Regions from separate parts of the Homo sapiens genome. Here regions 2 and 3 are each linked to region 1. The links are contacts of gene promoters, found by promoter capture Hi-C in blood cells and fetal thymus (Javierre and others, 2016). All regions are on one chromosome and are shown on one strand. The core of a region is centred on a gene start or on the middle of the fragment in contact, and the rest is flanking DNA. Distances in the headings are between cores, read along the strand shown.

The links. Contacts are between HindIII fragments. The CHiCAGO score rates a contact against its expected background, and 5 or more counts as called.
Region 2: a fragment that was not itself captured here is called in contact with the fragment with the promoter of NDST4 in region 1 in 1 of 17 cell types (M1 macrophages); the score reaches 5.1 in M1 macrophages.
Region 3: a contact is called between a fragment that was not itself captured here and the fragment with the promoter of NDST4 in region 1, in 1 of 17 cell types (M2 macrophages). The highest score is 6.5, in M2 macrophages.

What each region holds. Positions count from the first base shown.
Region 1 is chr4:115,112,350-115,115,383 of GRCh38, reverse strand. NDST4 (N-deacetylase and N-sulfotransferase 4) reads left to right here and starts at 1,764. Exons shown (of 14, transcript NM_022569.3): 1 at 1,764-1,940. The HindIII fragment of the contact is 2,024 bases long and covers 577-2,600 here.
Region 2 is chr4:115,798,914-115,802,072 of GRCh38, reverse strand. No RefSeq gene overlaps it. Among named protein-coding and RNA genes, the nearest start is that of MIR1973, 500 kb to the left of the region's middle. The HindIII fragment of the contact is 1,605 bases long and covers 921-2,525 here.
Region 3 is chr4:115,816,718-115,819,926 of GRCh38, reverse strand. No RefSeq gene overlaps it. Among named protein-coding and RNA genes, the nearest start is that of MIR1973, 480 kb to the left of the region's middle. The HindIII fragment of the contact is 1,404 bases long and covers 725-2,128 here.

The sequences.
Region 1 (3,034 bases), core at 515-3,014:
TAATTATTTTATTATGACATCTTTGAAATATTTAACTGCAGTTTATTTATCCATTTTGAATTTTGATGTGTATCACTCTGAAAATTCTGACTTGACTTCAATGCATCTTTGCATTCCAAATGTTTTAAAAGGTAGTAAGAAGTACCTGAACGCTTTAATTATTTTTAAAATATAAATTTTTTCTTTAATATATTTTAGCCTGTGCACCTGAAAAACTAACTGATACATGACCTATGAGTTACTAGGTTTTATTTATTGCTTATGAATAACTGGTAAATATTTTTTCTAACTTGCTAGATTTTTTTTCCCTATTCTCTGTATGGCATATGTCTATGGCTTGCTAACCCTCAAAACCTTGTGCAGTATAATAATACTAGTAATCCTGGATGCATTAAAATTATTCTTCTGAAAGACCACATCATCAATAAATGCTGAGTTTTGAAGGACTCCCTCCTACCCCTACCTTCCAGTCTTATAGAGGATTTCATTGAAACCACACCAGTATTTCAAGTGGAACTACTACGTACAACCAAAGACACCCATATACCTGAGGAGGACTTGGAGTTGAGAAAAGCTTGTAGTTCTGTTCTGCAACCTATTAGGGGTGTTGAACCAAATTCTCATTAGCCTATCTTATTCCACTAAATTAAATGGTAGAAACTAAGGGATGTACTAAAGCAAGAAAAGCCCAGGGAATCATGTAGTCTGGAATGAGGAGAAGTACCTGAAAGCACTTTACTTTTACTTTTACATATATCCTAATGAATAAGTTTAAAGAACTTTACATAATGTATATAAAAGTACTTGATAATATCTTTATGTGTTTACACGAATTAATAGAAAACAAAGAGCAGGTAATTTTCAACTTATATTGCCACGTTAAAAAGAAGAAAAGAGACATAGAAAAGAACTTTTCCATAATAATCCAGTAGTTTACCTTAATTACTAAAACAATGCACACAATAAATTCACACGCACATACTCTTTCTTTTCTTCTAACATTTATCATGGTCTAAAATGCTGTTATTAACTTCAGGACTATGTAGCTTACTAATACTTGTCCGAGTTTCCTATTGCTCATTGTTGGCTTTTGTTGAGTTTGTAATTTTTGTGTTTAACTGGCACACATTTACAGCAGAAAATCCTGCTTTGAACTTTTCTTATTTTGTCCAATAGAATCTCGTGGAACAGTGTCATAGCTGCAAAGTGGAATTCTATCCTCAAATTTCATAGGAAATAGTCGAACTGTACAATGAAAGATTATGCAAATCTTCAAGGAGCATCTAATCAATCACCGCGGTGTGAGCGGAATGCAGCCCATCGCTGAATTAGCTTCTGTTGGAATGTATTCATGTGTAACATCCCACTGACTGGATGACATCACAACAGCTCCAGGTCCTTGAAAGTCTTGAGGATGATTAGCTGAAGGAATTGGCTGTTTCTGCCAATCATAATCCGGCAAAGCTGCCTTTATAGTTCTGGAGATGTGAGAGAGAGGGAGGGAGGGAAAGACCGACTACAGCTAAACAAGAGGCACAGCAGCACTAGCAACAGCAGAGCAGGAGCAGCTGGTATTCCGGTGATTAAATAGTTCTCATAGCCTTTTTGCTGTACTCGGTCTGCTCCCTGGTGTAATTCTCGTGTCCAAGAAGGAAGCTGCATTTTAACGGTGTGCTGAACAGAGGTTTGAATCATTCCAGCTGGCTGCTTGTTTTGAAAAGGACAATGTGTGTATAAATAAAAGGACTCTGCTGGAAGAGTTCAGACACTAAGACTGGAGCTAGAGAGTGCTCTTGGAATATTGTTGAGGCAGATTGCATGAACTGAAAGCTCCTTCTAATTAACCTGGAGCCAAGTGAACCTGAATACTGGATATCTCATGTTCTAACACGGGATAAATTCAAGTTAGAAAAAGACAAAATATTGAAATGCTTCTCTAGGTAAGTTACTGCTTAATTTGCTGAAATCGAGGTGTGTATCATAAATGAATATGCGTTGCTTAGCTATGTAAACAAGTCGGACACAATAAAGTTTTATTTGTGAAAGATTTATGTAGAAGCAGATAATATCTTAAAACCAAATTCAATCTCCCTTTTCCGCATGTGTGTGCTTACCTGTCATCATGCTTTATAGAAGTTATATTTGCACGTAAGTAGAAAATACAGTCGTACATAAAAAAAAAGAGATACAACTTGATAAAATTTAAACAGTTGCCGGAACATTTGCATAGGAAATATCTTATTTGATAACAACTTTAGCCTTTTCATATTAAAAGCACCAATTTTACAAACTCAACATCCAAAGTTAACTGTAGGGTTATAAATGTTTCCCTAATAAGTGTTACTGAAAACATGGCATTCAAATTACCGAAGATGGGAACTCCTGTTTTTTGGACCTGAGATTTATAGGCATGCTCTGTACTAATGGTCTGCTTTAGAGAAACAGCTGTCACAGACATGTGAAATTGTATGTTACAGTCATAAATTGCTTATAAAGAAATAGGTGCTTTCCTCCTACCTCCTATTAGAAAAGAAAAATAAATTCTTAGAACAATATATGTCATATGCCCTAAGCATAGTTTCCTAGGAGGACAGAAAGCTTTATGGTATACCTCCAATTTCCTCAAGCACAGAATAAGTTGGAAAACAAGAAATGTTATTGGAATATGGTTTTACTCATTCTTTTCAATATTCTTTTTGAGAAAGCTAAATAAGGAAAATTAAACCTTATTTTTCTTAGAATTTGTCCTGATTAATAAAATACTATATTCTACAGAATTCCTGTCATAGTTTTTTTAAGTGATTATATGTTTTGTTTATTATGATAAGTTATACTGTGAGTTCTCATACAGCTTTAGAAAGTTTTAAGTTTATGTTTTATCATGTCTCTTTCAAACTCACCTTTGCTTGTTTTCGTGGTGCCTTTTATCAGAATATTTTTCATTTGCACAGTTTCATAAATGCTTTAACATAAATTGCATACCAAGATACTGATGTGTTTCTGTAACTCTCAGAATGATTTTAGTTTTCCACTT
Region 2 (3,159 bases), core at 474-2,973, 690 kb before region 1:
AATTAGTATTAAATTTCAATTGAGTCCAGGTGTGGTGTCTTATGCCTGTAATACCAGCACTTTGGGAGGCCAAGGCAGGTGGATCACGAGGTCAGGAGATCGAGACTATCCTGGCTAACACGGTGAAACCCCCTCTCTGCTAAAAACAAAAAATTAGCCAGGCGTGGTGGTGGGCACCTGTAGTCCTAGCTACTTGGGATGCTGAGGCAGGAGAATGGTGTGAACCTGGGAGGCAGAGCTTGCAGTGAACTGAGATTGCGCCACTACACTCCAGCCTGGGCGACAGAGCGAGACTCCATCTCAAAAAAAAAAAAAATTCAATTGAACAGTGACATTATACAATGAAAGAGAGAATTTGTGACTAGAGACATAAAGCAACAGAAAATATATAGTTCATTATGTGAAGAGAGAAAAAAGAGAAAAAAGCATATGAGTCATGTTGACTCCAGAATAACCTTGATTTAAAAACCTGCTAAAATATTTCAAAAATGAAAATTTCAGGTCAATTGCATTTGCAAACATGGATAAAAAAATCTTAGGCAAAATATTAGCAAACAGAATCCAAAGACATACCTAGGATTTCTGTTTTCAAAGTCAATAAATATAATTCACACATTAACAAAATATAAAGAACAAACATATGATGTCCAAACATCATATGATGACCAAATTTCATATCCATCATGACTAAAACTCTTAGAAAACCAGAGACAAAAAGAAACTTCCTTAACCTCAATACAGAACATTTACATAATAAAATATGCAAATGGTCAATAAGCATATGAATATCTGTACTACATCAATGGTAATAAGGAGAATGCAAAGTAGAACTATTCTAACGTATTTCTACATACTCATCAGGCTACAATTAAAAATACTAAAGTACTAAAAGCAGGAAAAGTTGTGAAATAACAGAAGCTTTTATCTACTTCTAAATTAGTACAACCACTTTAGAAAACAGCTTTTCAGCATATATGAAAGGGAATGTATAAATACACTATGTCCCCAGAGTTTTATACCTGCTTTCATAGATAACACAAACCCATGGATACATGTATCAAAAGACATGTGCAAGAAGGCTAGCTATAATATTAACTGTAGTAATTAAAAATACAAAAGTAACCCAAATGCTCATTAACCATCTACTGACAAAATAAATAACTTATTTTATACAGAAGACATAAATCTAATCTTGAATAAAATTTGCCAGAAATAAAATAAGACATAATATATGGTTCCATTTGCATATATTTCAAACTTAAAGAAAATTAATCTATCATGCATATACAAGGATAGTTACTTTTCAGGAGAGAGTGAGATGAGTAGGAGAAAGGATGAGAGGTTTTCTGGGTTGCACTTAAGGTCTTTTTCTCAAGAATATTCTGGTTGCTTACATGTAATCACTTCATGAACATTTATCTAGGTGTGTATTTATGACCCGCTCATGTTTCTGAATGTACTATTAGACTTTAATAAGTGAGTTTATATAACATAGCGTTGCTCACAGTATCACATTGTGAGAATCTGCTGGGAAGACAATTAGAGGGCCTATCACACAGCACTTCATGGGACAAATATTAAAGACTTTTTTTTATGGCTGAGGGCATTGAAGAGCCATTTAAATGTTTTAATGAAGGGCTTATTTTTCAGATAACATTTGCACTTTGGAATTCTGAATGCAGAAATGGAGAATTGACTGGAAGCAAAAAAAGGAGGTTCAACAGAATAACTAATATTCTAGAAGACACATGAAAATATCTTGGACTAGTTTGTGTGTGTGTGTATCTACATAACAGGGAGACAGGAGAGAAGGGGGTTGCATTGTGAAGATAAATGTGAAGATTTAATAGACATAATATGGTTCAGTTTGATAGAGTTTGATGTTGAGCTTAAGTTTGATGGAGTGGAGAAGGACAAAAGTAAATTACTGTCCTGTATAACAGAATAGTTACACATGTCTTTTGAGTGTAAGTCTTTTTCATCCTTTAGAATGTTGTTTGTGAAGTGTTTTTAAGATAAACAGAGATACCAAACAGCATATTCCATCATGAGCTCTGAGGAGATAACTAAAATGATGATATACATTTGTAAGTTTTCTTTCAATAAAGTAAATCTCAAAACCTAAGATTTGGATAAGATCAAGGAAGAAGGTATAGATTGAAAAGAGAAGGTTTTCTAGGTCTGACCTGGAGAAACTCAATTTACCGTGGTTTTATTATTGAAACCGGATTTGCACAGGAGACTGAATGGGTGGTCAGTGAGGTAGAAAAAATGCATGAGAATATTGTAAAAGAAAAAACAAAGTACATAGAAATAAATGAATGGGTGGGGGGATTAACACTCTGGGTAGAATGAGATTTGGACTTAGTAACACAGAGGCTATGGCTTTGTTTAGTAGTGGGAGCTGCTTAGGTTATTAATAGAGACAGAAGCCAGTTCCAATGAATTGCCAGACATGTTGGTGACAAAATAAAAACAATAAGAATAGGCACACGTTTTGAGAGTGTCAGTCATGAAGGAAAGCTTAGTATAGGTTGACAAAAGGAAGAAATAGGATTCAGAAGTTTTGTTGCTGCTGCTACTGTTATTGATTTTTGAAATAAGGAGAACTGAGAAGATGCTTTTAAAAATGAGAAGAATCAAATTGAGAGAACCTGATTGCATGTTGAGAGAAAGAATAGATAATAAGCACTGGGATAGAAAATAGTTCAAAGAGATCCAAAGCACAGATTGAGGCATTCTCCTTTCAAAGAGGAAGAGGCACTCATCTGCTGTAGCAGGTGGTTAGATTCTAAATCAATGGGTTTTTCAACTGAAAAAAAAGACACTGCCAACCAATTTTTGAATGAATTTTAAATATGACATTTTAATATACAATTTATATCCAAATTTTATGTTCTATAAAATTGTCAAGAAGAAAGCATGTGTATTCAAAACTGCTAAAATAACATTACATAAATAATTTTAAAAGCATTTTTGCTATATTTACTTAGTGTAAGGCATATTATTTACCTATATTATTTGTCAATCATATTACATACTCCTCACAGTAGTTTATTTAAAAGTGTTGTTTTTATTAGCATTTGTATATAGCTTAGATATTTCAAATTTTATGGGTGAAACACCTGGAAATGAAGCAAGATAACTTCTAGGCATTTA
Region 3 (3,209 bases), core at 177-2,676, 700 kb before region 1:
AAACAAAGGTGCAAGTACCTACATTGGGTAAAGGACAGTCTTTTCAATAAGATATCTAGTTTTCTGGGAAAACTAGCTATCCATATGCAGAAGAATTAAATAGATCCCTACCTCTTGCCATATACAAAAATCCAATCAAAAGAAAAACTTAATTCTGAGACATCAAGCTATAAAACTACTACAATAAAACGCTGGCTAAAATCTTTGGACTTTGGAGTGGGCAAAGATTTCATGAGTAATACCCCAGAAACACAAGCAACTAAAGCCAAAATGGACAAATGAGATCATATCGAGTTACCAAGCTCTGAACAGCAAAGGAAGTAATCAAAAAATGAAGAGACAATTTACAGAACAGAAAAACATATTTAAAAACTGCCCACCTGACAAGGGATTAATAATCAGAATATATAAGGAGCTCAAATAACTCTAAAATAAAAAACCTATTAATTCAGTTTAAAAATGGGCAAAAGATGTAAATAGATATTTCTTAAAAGAAGACATACAAATGGCAAGCATGTATATGAAAACGTGCTCCACATCATTGATGATCAGAGAAATGCAAATCAAAACTAAAAGGAGATACTATCTCAACCCAGTTAAAATGGCTTATATCCAAAAGATAGGCAATAACAAACCCTGGCAATGATGCAGAGATAAGGAGCCCTTGTACCCTGTTGGTGGAAATGTAAATTCATACAGATACTACGGAGAAAAGTTTGAAGCTTCCTCAAAATCTAATAATAGGAGCTCTCATATTATCCAGCGGTCCCATCATTAGGTATAATATAAAAGCAAGAAATCAGTATATTGAAGATATATCTGCACTCCCATGTTTATTGGAGCATTATTTCCAACAGCCAAGATTTGGAAGAAACTTAAGTGTCCTTCAGAAGACAAATGGATAAATAAAAGATGATACTTATACAGTAGTACAAGGGAGTACTATTTGGCTGTAATAAAGAATGAGATCCTGTCATTTATAACAACATTGATGGAACTGGAGGACATTCTTCTTCTTATTATTATTTATTTTTTGAGACGGAGTCTTGCTCTGTCACCCAGGCTGGAGTGCAGTGGCGCCATCTCGGCTCACTGCAAGCTCTGCGTCCCGGGTTCACGCCATTCTCCTGCCTCAGCCTCCCGAGTAGCTGAGACTACAGGCGCCCACCAACATGCCCAGCTAATTTTTTTGTATTTTTTTTAGTAGAGACAGAGTTTCACCGTGTTAGCCAGGATGGTCTCGATCTCCTGACCTTGTGATTGGAGGACATTATTTTAAGCGAAATAAGTCAGACACAGAAAGACAAACTTTACCTGTTCTCACTTATTTGAGGTGAAAATTAACATAATTAAACTCATGGAGACAGAGAGTAGAATGATGGTTACCAGAGGCTGGGAAGGGTAATGGAGGTGGGAGAGAAAAGGAAGTAGCGATATTTAATTGGTACAAAAATATAGTTAGAATGAATAAAATCTAGTATTTGACAGAATAACAGGGTCACTACAGTAAATAATAATATACCGTACATTTAAAAATAAATACAAGAGTATAATTTGATTGTTTGTAATACAAAGAAAGGATAAATGCATGAGATGATGGATACCCCATTTACCCTGCTGTGATTATCATGCATTTTATGCCTGTATAAAAACACAGACATGGTTTTTTTGTTTGTTTGTTCGTTTGTTTTTTTTTGAGACAGAGTTTTGCTCTTGTTGCCCAGGCTGGAGTGCAATGGCGCGATCTTGGCTCACCACAACCTCTGCCTCGCAGATTCAAGCAATTCTCCTGTCAGACATGTATTTTTATACAGGCATACAATGTATACAAAATGTATACGATGCAATATCAAAATATCTCATGTAGCCCATAAATATATACATATACTATGTTCCCACAAAATTAAAAATAATAAAAAAAGGAAATCTAATATTGTTTTTAAAATTAAAGAACATCAGGAATTTGGAGTAAATGTTTCTGTCAAGAAGTAGAGTTAAAGCATCACAACTAAGCAGACTATGAGTGAACTACATTTCTTTTTTTTTTCTTAAGAAGCATCAGATGTTTAATTTGTTTTTGACTTACAGTATTAGTTCTATTTCTTTTTTTATTATTATACTTTAAGCTTTAGGGTACATGTGCACAATGTGTAGGTTTGTTACGTATGTACACAAGTGCCATGTTGGTGTGCTGCACCCATTAACTTCTCATTCTCATTTACATTAGGTATATCTCCTAATGCTATCCCTCCCCCATCCCCCCAACCCATGACAGGCCCTGGTGTGTGATGTTCCCCTTCCTGTGTCCATGTGTTCTCATTGTTCAATTACCACCTATGAGTGAGAACATGTGGTGTTTGGTTTTCTATCCTTGAGAAAGTTTGCTGAGAATGATGGTTTCCAGCTTCATCCATGTCCCTACAAAGGACATGAACTCATCCTTTTTTATGGCTGCATAGTATTCCATGGTGTATATGTGCCACAGTTCCTTAATCCAGTCTATCATTGATGGACATTTGGGTTGGTTCCAAGTCTTTGCTATTGTGAATAGTGCCGCAATAAACATACGTGTGCATGTGTCTTTATAGCAGCATGATTTATAATCCTTTGGGTATATACCCAGTAATGGGATGGCTGGGTCAAATGGTATTTGTAGTTCTAGATCCCTGAGGAATTGCCACACTGATGTCCACAATGGTTGAACTAGTTTACAGCCCCACCAACAGTGTAAAAGTGTTCCTATTTCTCCACAACCTCTCCAGCACCTGTTGTTCCCTGACTTTTTAATGATTGCCATTCTAACTGGTGTGAGAAGGTATCTCATTGTGGTTTTGATTTGCATTTCTCTGATGGCCAGTGATGATGAGCATTTTTTCATGTGTCTGTTGGCTACATGAATGTCTTCTTTTGAGAAGTGTCTGTTCATATCCTTCTCCCACTTGCTGATGGGTTTGTTTTTTTTCTTGTAAATTTGTTTGAGTTCTTTGTAGATTCTGGATATTAGCCCTTTGTCAGATGAGTAGATTGCAAAAATTTTCTCCTATTCTGAAGGTTGCCTGTTCACTCTGATGGTGGTTTCTTTTGCTGTGCAGAAGCTCTTGAGTTTAATTAGATCCCGTTTGTCAATTTTGGCTTTTGTTGCCATTGTTTTTTGTGTTTTAGACATGAAGTCCTTGCCCATGCCTATGTCCTGAATGGTATTGCCTAGG